Linked DNA regions of Homo sapiens: region 2 is linked to region 1. The links are contacts of gene promoters, found by promoter capture Hi-C in blood cells and fetal thymus (Javierre and others, 2016). All regions are on one chromosome and are shown on one strand. Each heading gives the region's core, a stretch centred on a gene start or on the middle of the fragment in contact. The rest is flanking DNA. Distances are from core to core; before and after follow the strand shown. Region 1 holds the start of PSMD6 (proteasome 26S subunit, non-ATPase 6). Region 2 overlaps ATXN7 (ataxin 7).

Region 1 (5,090 bases), core at 2,354-4,853:
TTTGCTTTGAATATGAATAAAATAATTTGTTCACACTTGGTAGTTTTCAGTATGTGTCTGCCTGGTTTATGTAATTATTAGTTATATTTCACAAATTTATAAGGGACTGGGAATACAGCAATGGATACACCTAGCACTAAGATCTTGGTTTTTAAATACTATCCCCCACTAAAAGGAACCAGGGATCCTAGGAGAAATAGATAATTCTACGTTTATTAGAGTGAAAATAACAGGTGAACCTGTGACATTTTGTTTTATCAGAAAATAAGACTAATGAGATATGTCAAAAGGACAAAGTGTCTTGACGGAGCCTCTGCTAACAAATTTGCAACAAACTTAGCACCATAAAGAATAAGACTCTCATCAGTGGTAACAGTGAATAATAAAAGCCCACTAAGTCCATTAAGTATTTAGTAATACTAAATAAAATAAAATATAAAAAACGAGAGTAAATAGGAGGGGAAAAGTTGTTCGTTTTGGAAGAGTATTTAATAAATACAGAGGAAATATAATATTAGAACATTTTACAACTTCCTGATACTGATTCAAGCATGTCCTTGTTGAAATTCTTCAAAACCTGAATCAAAAGTTTCAAGTTTCTCATTCATATGTAATATATTAGTCTTTAAAACCAAGCCACAAACATACAGCTTAAAAGTAAATGGAAACCACTAGATAATTCTAAACTTTTCTGTATTTTCCAAATTTTTACAATGACCACGTCTTAAGTTTACAACCAGAAAAGAGAAAAAAACCTCGTTTTAGATATACATTGCAAAACAACATTTAGGCACTTACTATGTGCTAGGTACCAGTCTAAGCTTTTTCCTATCCTTAATCCACATTAAGTAAAAACTATCAGTACTCCTGTTTTACACATGAGGAAACCGAGGGTTTCATAAATCATAATTACCGAGGTTGAAAACAGAACCCAGACAATCTGATTCAAGAGCTCATGTTATTTTTATTTTTTATATTGGCACCATGTCATTCTATACCTAAATACTTCCAGGCAAATAATTTAAAATTAAAAACATTCAAAGCCCATTTTCTTAACCACTATTACACAGTTACTCAATTAAATTTCAAAGATCCAGTAATGGTGAGTACCCCTCTGGTGCCCTGATGGTGGAGTAAGCTGGCTGCTATGCAGAACAACTGGCCACACATATTTAAAAAAAAGAAGAAAAAAAAAAACTGTTCATTGTCCCGGCGATTTTGTTTCATATACTATACCCTAGAGAAACACTAGCATATACACACAGAGACATACATAAGCATATTTTTACAGCAGCAGTTTGCTAAAGCAAAAACAGATGAAAACAACACATATGTCCAACAACAGCTGAACAGGCAAATAAACTATGCCAGAGCTAGCTCTACAGTGGAACATTAGGCAGCAGTTAACCAGGATGAGCCAGATTTATGTATGTTGGCATGGAAAAGACCTCTTAAATATAATGCTGAATGAAAAGGGCAAACAGGACTACACTAATACACTATGATCCTATGTACTTAAAAAAAAAATTCTGTAGAATTAAAAATTTCTGCAAGTATTAACTTTTTTAAAAATTGGTTCTTTCATTGAGCATTTATATTCTTTTACATATAAAATTTTACGTAAAAAAGATTTTATGACCGGGTGCACTGGCTCACGCCTATAATCCCAGCACTTTCGGAGGCCGAGACAGGTGGATCACCTGAGGTCAGGAGTTCGAGACTAGCCTGGCCAACATGTTGAAATCCAGTCTCTACTAATAATACAAAAAAATTAGCTGGGTGTGGTGGCGCACGCCTGTAATCTCAACTACTCGGGAGGCTGAGGGAGGAGAATCGATTGAACCCAGCAGGTGGAGGTTGCAGTGAGCCAAGATCACTCCATTGTACTCCAGCCTGGGTGGCAAGAGTGAAACTCCGTCTCAAAAAAAAAAAAAAAATTACCAAAAAGTTTGCATAAATGCACAATAAAAGAACTGAAAAGCCTATCCCTGGGCAGGTACAGAGTAAAGAAAGATAACAGAACTTCAGCATTTACTATACTGTTTCTTAGTTTCTGCTAAGTATTACTCGTGTAAAGTACTAAAGACACCAGAACCAGTGCTTCCCAACCAAGTGAGAAAACTGCTGAAAATGATCCCAATTTTGTAAAAGCAGTAAATAAAATTCTCTAGATGTACACTTACGTTTTTATCGGCATGGGGTGAAATGGGGAAGAATACAGCCCTAGCTGCTGTTTGGGGAAATGACAAGGCATTTCATGGAGACGACTTTTTCATCTTTACATTGATTCACCAGTACAAGCAAGCATGATTACCTTTATACTTTTTCTAAAACGAAGTTAATTTTTTTAATGAGAAACGATTACCTGGAATAGTCTCCAATTTTAGCCTATACTAACTACAGAGAGGGAAAACCATCTCTACTCACTTTGTCACCTATCCGGCAGAGGTACTCGGCCTTTGCCATCATTGCATCGCGAATTTCGCTCTCTCCTAGATTCTTCTCTGCATCTTCCAGCTCCTCATCCAAACGCTTCAACTCATCTTCATTTGCCTTCTTCATTTTATTGAGTAGGTCCACGTCTATCTGCCAGTCGAGGGATTTGCACAAGGCTTCATAGTAAGGAGCCATGTCTAACATGCAAAAAGAGGGATGTGTGAGTGGGGACACTTGTGCCCTCAAGTCAAAGTCTGCCCACGTATTTCACCCCCCGCCCCGCCACAAGTCATCCACCAGTCTCTTCCCCACTAACAGGAAGGCATGCGATGGCGCTTAATAATCGGCTTGGCAAAACATAAACGTATGCTGGTGGGAGGTTTGCGTGACGGCCAATCCTGGCAATGCCAACCTCTACTAGGGCTGGAGGGAGGGCAATCCTCGGTTTGCTCTTGCCGGATTCTGTTCCAAAAGTCTTCAAACAGGGAAAGACTTTTTATACACACATACTCACATACATATGTTCAAACATACACATTCACTACAGAAGGGCCAGAAAGAACCGAACCCAAATTTCCCTTCCACAGGCAAGCTGAACTCTCCCACAGGAATACCCCGCGCCCGGGAGCAGTCCCCACTGACAGAAAGTCACGGGGCCTTTACTCTGTGCCTAGCACAGGGGTAAATATTAATGCCTCACGATTCTCCCCCAAGCTGCCCTTACAGGGGAAGGCGGCACAGAGAGATGCAGACCCCGCTGAGGCAAGTCGAGGTCCCCCAGGGTATCCCCAAACCAAAGCAAAACCCTAAGGGCCGGAGAAGCCAGGCCTGGTCTCTGAGACCCCGTCAGAGGGGTCTGGAGCTCCATCAAAAAAAGTCCCCGCAGGCTCCGGAACGCGGGGACGGCCCAGGCCTAGGCCGCTGACTCGGCGCTCGTGCGGGCCTCACTGTTATCGCGGACGGCCGCCATCAGCTCGTCGCGCACGGCAGCGTCTCCGCGGTGCTCGGGCAGGCTGAGCAGGAAGCGCAGCTGCGCGATACGCAAGTCGGGGTTCTTGGGCAGACCCTCCTCCTCCAGGTTCTCCAGCGGCATCGCGGCGAAGGGGACAGCGGCTGACAGGACACAACTTGGTTACGACCGGCTGCGGCAGCGGAAGCGGGAGGAGTCGGCGAATACGCCCGGCCGCCTGCGGCCCGGCTTCCGGTCCCGTCTCCGCCGGCAGCGTCCTCTGCTGGACACCTCCGGGAACGCCTCACCCGGCCTGGGCGCCTGCGCCCCTGTGTGGTCACGGGGGCTTTTCCACCCTCAAGGCCCCCTGCGGAGTCCCAGAGTGGGTGCAGCCCAACTCAAAAGCCCAATTTCTTGAATCTCTTTCTCACTCCCTTTTTAGCTATTTTACTTTCCGTTTGTAACTGATGGGAGCTTAAAATTTTTTGAAAACTGAAAATGTAATAACAGCATTAATAAAAACAATCACCATAGTTTGTCGAGTCGTTACTCTCATTCATCTTATTAAAATCATCTTCATGCTGCGAGGTAGTACTATTAGCCTATTTAGTAGGTAAGACAAATGAGGCACAAAGAGGTTAGGGAAACAGACCAACCAAGGTCATGTAACAGCCATGTCGCAAGGCCTAAATGAAAACCCCTATCTAGAACTCTAAAATCCACATTCTTTCTGCGGTTTTAAGAAGAAAAAAAAACTGCACCCAGGATTCTACGTCATAGTACAACAGCATCATCGTTTTGTTTACACATAAATTAAATCATTACATGCCTGCATTTTCAGCTTCCTTTTGTTCACATTGCTACAGATCTTCAGAGGTGGTAATCTTTACATTAAATTCCTTTTTTTTTTGAAACGGAGTCTTGCCCTGTCACCCAGGCTGGAGTGCAGTGGCACAATCTTGGCTCACTGCAACCTCTGCCTCCCAGCTTCAATCGATTCTCCTGCCTCAGCCTCCCAAGTAGCTGGGATTACAGGCCTGCACCACCATGCCGGGCTAATTTTTGTATTTTTAGTAGAGACGGGGTTTCACCATGTTGGCCAGGCTGGTCTTGACCTTCTGACCTCAAGTGATTCCCCCGCCTCAGTCGTCCAAAGTGCTGGGATTACAGGTGTGGGCCACCATGCCTGGCCTAAATTCCATCTAATGGATTTACCATAATTTACTTTCACTCTTCCCTCTGTTAGAGGTGTCTTTAGGTTGACCAGAGTTTTTACTTACCTAATATAAAAACTTGGATGAAGACTTTGGATGTCTAGATCACTTCATGTTTTGCATCTTTTTCCTTAGCATAAAATCCCATGAAGGAATAACGGACAAAGGGAAGAAGGATTTTGTGACTTGGGGATATTTAATGTTAAATGGTTTTCCAAAAGAGCTGAACCAGTTTACACAGCTGCTGAAACAGGTGAGACTGCCACATCTCACAGGCAGTAGGCATCATCACATAATTTAAATCTATTATTTGTTTCTATAAAAATGAAACAAGCATTTTGAAGACAACTCAAATGATAGAGAAAATATGAAGAGTAAAAAAAAAATACTATTAAATAGCTCTCCACCACTGCTAAACTTTTGGTAAAAAACTTTCTAAAATTCTTTCATTTAGTCATTCAACAAACATGATTGCATGGTTACAAAGTACC
Region 2 (5,123 bases), core at 1,665-4,164, 130 kb before region 1:
ATGAACAGCAGTTGAAATATTTACATTAATTAACTAATGCAAAGCTTATGTCACAGAATTGTGGAATGTCACCATACGAAATCAAGTGTCTGCATCATGTTAAGCTTCTTTGAATGTCTTAAGTAGGAAATGGAGTTCTATGGATAGGCAAGGGCTAGAAATAGCCTCAGAAAAATCAAATCTTCAGATGCTGGTATACTATTTTCTGACAAAATACGGAGAATATTCTAGGATCTATAGGAGGGCATGTTAGTGTTTGGCTGCAAATAATGATACCATGGCTCTAGGGAATGCCACATGGTCAAACCTATAGCACTGAGCAAATAGAAAGTGAATCCCAGGATACCATTCTGCAGCACATGGCAGTGAATAAGCACTGGCTCCTCAGCTTCTCCAGAATTCATGTTCCTGAGGTTGTGTCAGGACAGATTTTTATGAATAGGGTAATCTTGCAACTAGCAAATGATTTTTGTTTGGCCCTAGCTCCTAACATTTTAGATAGTCTTCCTCCCAGTTGGGAAAATATTCCTGGTAATTAAAATCATCCTCTACTTACCAGCTTAACATTTTTCCCTTGATCACATTTGTTTTCTTTAAGCAGCATATGATTGTACTTAAAGTAGCTATTGGGATAGAGGAGAAGGGAAACAATCATTTATTGACCATCAGCTATATGCCAGCCACTTTGCTAAGTGTTTATGTTCATTCATGCATGTAACTGCAGTATTGAAAAATTTCATTAATGATACTCATTAAGTTATGGATCTGAAATAAACAGCATCCTAAGCAACTGTTTGTAGCAAGCCAATTTTCTTGGTCAGATTTACTCAAGGGGTTTGTTGACCAAAACACAGTAGAGAAAGAGTGAGACATAGTGCATATATGCCTGTGAGAAATGGTTTAAAGAATATAATTATATCTATTAATTTGTATATTCATGAGACAGTGTGTAAAATGATACAGAATTTAGACATGTAAGACCCAGCCCCTCTCCTCTTAGCTGTTTATCCAAATGAGGGAAACAAGTTTTGAGTTAAAGGAAAATATCAACTAACTACAGGACTTAAACTGCTTAACCCATCAATGTAACATGTATAACAGGGCATTACATAATTATTTTTGAAATCTTTCAGATTGTAAATGCTTTAATATTCAGAAGAGGAAATGATTACTGATCTCTGACCCTTGATTTTGTTATCTGTATGATTTTGCTACCTCGTAGAAGTAAATAAAATAATGTATATAAAAGACTTAATATAATGCCTACTACTTAGTATACCTTCAATAAATTGTAGCGGTTGCTGTTGGTAATGAAAATTATGACGATAGTAAGAATACTTTATAAGAGTAGGCTAACTGCTATAATGACCCAAAACCCCAGTGCCTTAACACAATATAATGTTTATTTCTTGTTTAAGCTCAGAGTGTGTTGGCAAGGAGGCTCAGAGTGTGTTGATTCCCCCAGTCATTCAGGAGTGAAATTGTGTGGCTCTGCCCTCCTGTAAGTACTTGGAGCCCTTTCCATTTGACCAACAGAGGGTAGGAGAGACTGAAGCTCAAGCCAGAGAGGTTTGTATGGGCCTAGCCCAGAAGTGTGGCACCCAACATTTCTTTTTTTATTTTATTTTATTTTATTTTATTTATTTGTTTATTTTGAGACAGAGTCTTGCTCTGTCACCCAGGCTGGAGTGCAGTGGCACCATCTCGGCTCACTGCAACCTCCACCTCCCGGGTTCAAGTGATTCTTGTGCCTCAGCCTCCTGAGAAGCTGGGACTACAGGCACGCAGCACCACGCCTGGCTAATTTTTGTATTTTGAGTAGAGATGGGGTTTCACCTTGTTGGCCAGGCTGGTCTGGAACTCCTGATCTCAGTGATCTGCCCACTTCAGCCTCCCAAAGTGCTGGGATTACAGGCGTGAGCGACGAGCGACTGCACCTGGCCCCAGCACTTTTTTTTTTTTAAGAGATGGGGTCTTGCTCTTTTGCACTAGCTGAAGTACAGTGGCACAGTCATAGCTCACTGCAGCCTTGAACTCCTGGGCTCAAGTGATCCTCCTGCCTCAGCCTCCCAAGTAGCTGGGACTACAGGTGTGAGACACCACACCTGGCTAATTATTTATTTTAATTTTCATAGAGATGGAGTCTCGCTGTGTTGCCTAGGCTGATCTCGAACTCCTGGCCTCAAGGGATCCTCCCTCCTCAGCCTCCCAAGGTGCTGGGATTACAGGCGTGAGCCATCACACCTGGCTTACACAACATTTTTGTTCACATTTTGGATTCAGTCACATGTCTCTACCTTACTGCAATGAATATTGGGAAATTTAGGCAAACTATGTGCTCAGGCAGAGAATGTAAATATAGGTGACTATTGGCGATCTCTATCACAAATAGTATTTACAAAGGCTTAGTAGAAGTGGAAGCATTTTCCCTGGATCTTTTAGAGAAGAGTGAAATTTGTTGTGTGCTGCTCAGCCTGTATTTAGGAGGTAATATTTAAAGAGGTGGGTAGAATAATTAAAAACTGTACGAGCATTATTAATGAAAACTACATTTATCCCACTAGCCACTGCCCTTACTGTCAGTCATTTGGTAAGTGACCTTTGGGAAGCCATTTATCTGTTACAGACCTGCATTTCCTCACTTACAAGTATTCTTTGTAGGGCTGTGGTGAAGATTAAACAAGACAGTGCATGTACAGAGTTTAGCAGAGGGTCTGATCCAAGTTAAGCACTCAGCGAAAATTGTTCTTATTGGTAGTGTTGATAAGTATGGCCTCAGAGTAAAACGCGTGCTAGCTGTTCATTTATTTAACATCTATCCTAAGGGACCATGCTAGACTAGCAAAGAATGACTTGACTGAGGACACATATATGAATTTTAGAATTTTGTAACCCCAGGCCAGTCATAGGAGATTAACGTTCCCCTGGTAGACTATTGGGGAACAAACTCTCTCTGTTCCCCAGGCTTTCCTCCTCCCAGTCAACTTTAAAGACACCTCTACCACACACACACACACACACACACACACACACACACACCCGCCAACTCCTGTCAACAGGAGTACTGGACTTTAATTTGCCTCTTATCGCTCCTTCACACACACACACACACACACACACACCCACACACACACACACACACCCCAACTCCTGTCAACCGGAGTACTGGACTTTAATTTGCCTCTTATCCCTCCTTCTCCCTTCCTTAGCATTGATGTCTATAGGTGAGTTTGCCTGGTGAGAGTGAAGGTAAATGCCAGAGCAGCTCTTTATTCCACTGGCCTAATTGCGGGTTCTTAGCAAGGCAATAGCATCCCACTCCAGGCACATATTAACCTGAGTGGCTGGGTAGCCGTCAGGACCTGTGGTTCCATTTTATCCAATTCAATTCATCAGGCATTTATTAACACTTAACAACATTGGGCCCTAGGGATACAAGAATGAAATGTTGCAGACCCAGCCTCCAGGAAGCCCACCTAGGGCAGTAGGCATGATGACCTGATGAGGTTTCATCTGAGCTGGGTTTTGAAGTCTAGATGTGAGTTACTTGGAAAGTAAGAAAGGAGTTCAAGGAGGCATGAACAACAGGTGTGGAGAAACAGGTGGGAATTGTGGTGTATTGCAGTGGAGGGAATGGTTTTAAGCTCAACTCTAACATGCACTACCTCAGCTTTTATTGGCCTCATCTCACAAGCCTCAATTTTCTGATAAAGGAGCACAGAAAGAGTTCCTGTGTTATAGATGGGAGGTCTAAGTGAAATGATGCATGTAAAAGGCTTACTTTTTATTACTGGGCGCATGGTAAGTGTTCAGTAAATGTCAGCTACTACTACTATTATTATTGTCATGTGCTTTTATAAATTGACTTTCAAATCTACTGACTTGATCAGGGTTTTGCACAATGACAAATTGGAGAATTACTGGGAATTTTATATTTTACTTTTAGCTAATGGTGAAATGGTGCCCTGTAGTCACAAATAATGGATAGAAAAATGCCTTGCTGACCTTTCTTTGCTAAAAGAAGAGGGAACCTAGTTAACCTCAGTGAAGCCTGGGAGAGATAGGCTCAAGATGGGAGAACTGTGTGTCCTGAAATGGCAAAAGAGTGAAGGATGGCTATATTGAACATATTTGGAGAGAGCAGAGGGACTGAACATTGTGTAGGTATATACTAATAGAAGCTGTTAGAAAATGGAGGCTCCTTTAAAAATAAGACTCCACATGAGGCGTTCTACGAAGTGTTGAGAAAGCCCTAGGACTGACTGCAGTGGCTGAAATGTACTCAAGAAACCCAGGCCAGAGTTACTGGAGCCCTTCCTCACAATTGGCCTTGGCTCCCTCTCCACTTGTGTGTTTTCACATTGACTTGATCTTCAGTGGAGTAACTCTGAGCAGTGGCTGTAGCTCAGCAGGTAGAAAAACTCTCTAACCCTTGAAGAGGGGAATACAGTAGCACCATTGAAAAAAGAGGTTGTGTATAGAGTTTCATTCTTAAATTTGCTTTGCCAAGGAGAAAGCCTGTGAGAGTGAAAGCAAGGTGGAACTGGGGTCCAAAGAGAGGGAGTAAACTAGATGCCATATTAATTTGTATTTCTGGAGAATATGACTGCAGTTTATATATAACTTGGTTTAAACATTTTTGTAACCTGCTTAAGAAATTTGGGTTTGGGTGGTCGATTTTCATTTGGAAGAAAAGATTAGGAAGACAGTATAGTTTTGGGGACACAAGCATGGCTACCTACAGGAGACAGGTCTGAAAGGAAAATAAGTGATGCAGCCAGCTGAGTACTTTGGAAATTACATGCCAAATGACAAAGGGCAGCTCCCAACACAGCTTCATTCAGTTATCCCCCTCCAGGAAAGTTGGCCCCTGTGGCCAGATTTTTAGATTTTTCCCAGAGAAACCAGGAGTTTGGAATTTTATATGAATCTTCCAGCCTTTTAAATATTAACAACAAAGTCATATTGTTTTCCCCAAGATCACCATGGAAAACAAAAAAGTGGGCTATTTTAGGCCTGTGGACTTTTCCATTTGCAGTGAGTATCAAGATGGAGAGAAAAATGCACAGCCTAGGAGTTAGGTGGCTCAGCTGAATAACACTGCCAATTCTAGTGCCAGACAC

The links. Contacts are between HindIII fragments. The CHiCAGO score rates a contact against its expected background, and 5 or more counts as called.
Region 2: a fragment that was not itself captured here is called in contact with the fragment with the promoter of PSMD6 in region 1 in 1 of 17 cell types (total CD8 T cells); the score reaches 6.5 in total CD8 T cells.

What each region holds. Positions count from the first base shown.
Region 1 is chr3:64,019,891-64,024,980 of GRCh38, forward strand. PSMD6 (proteasome 26S subunit, non-ATPase 6) reads right to left here and starts at 3,604. Exons shown (of 8, transcript NM_014814.3): 1 at 3,385-3,604; 2 at 2,428-2,633. The coding sequence starts at 3,529. LOC105377121 (a long non-coding RNA gene) reads left to right here and starts at 4,185. Exons shown (of 3, transcript XR_940906.3): 1 at 4,185-4,261; 2 at 4,735-4,852. RefSeq lists enhancers at 2,906-3,528, 3,213-3,562, 3,529-4,150 and a silencer at 3,713-3,812. The HindIII fragment of the contact is 6,204 bases long and covers 820-5,090 here.
Region 2 is chr3:63,889,373-63,894,495 of GRCh38, forward strand. All of the region lies in intron 1 of ATXN7 (ataxin 7), which reads left to right. Among named protein-coding and RNA genes, the nearest start is that of ATXN7, 28 kb to the left of the region's middle. The HindIII fragment of the contact is 5,625 bases long and covers 103-5,123 here.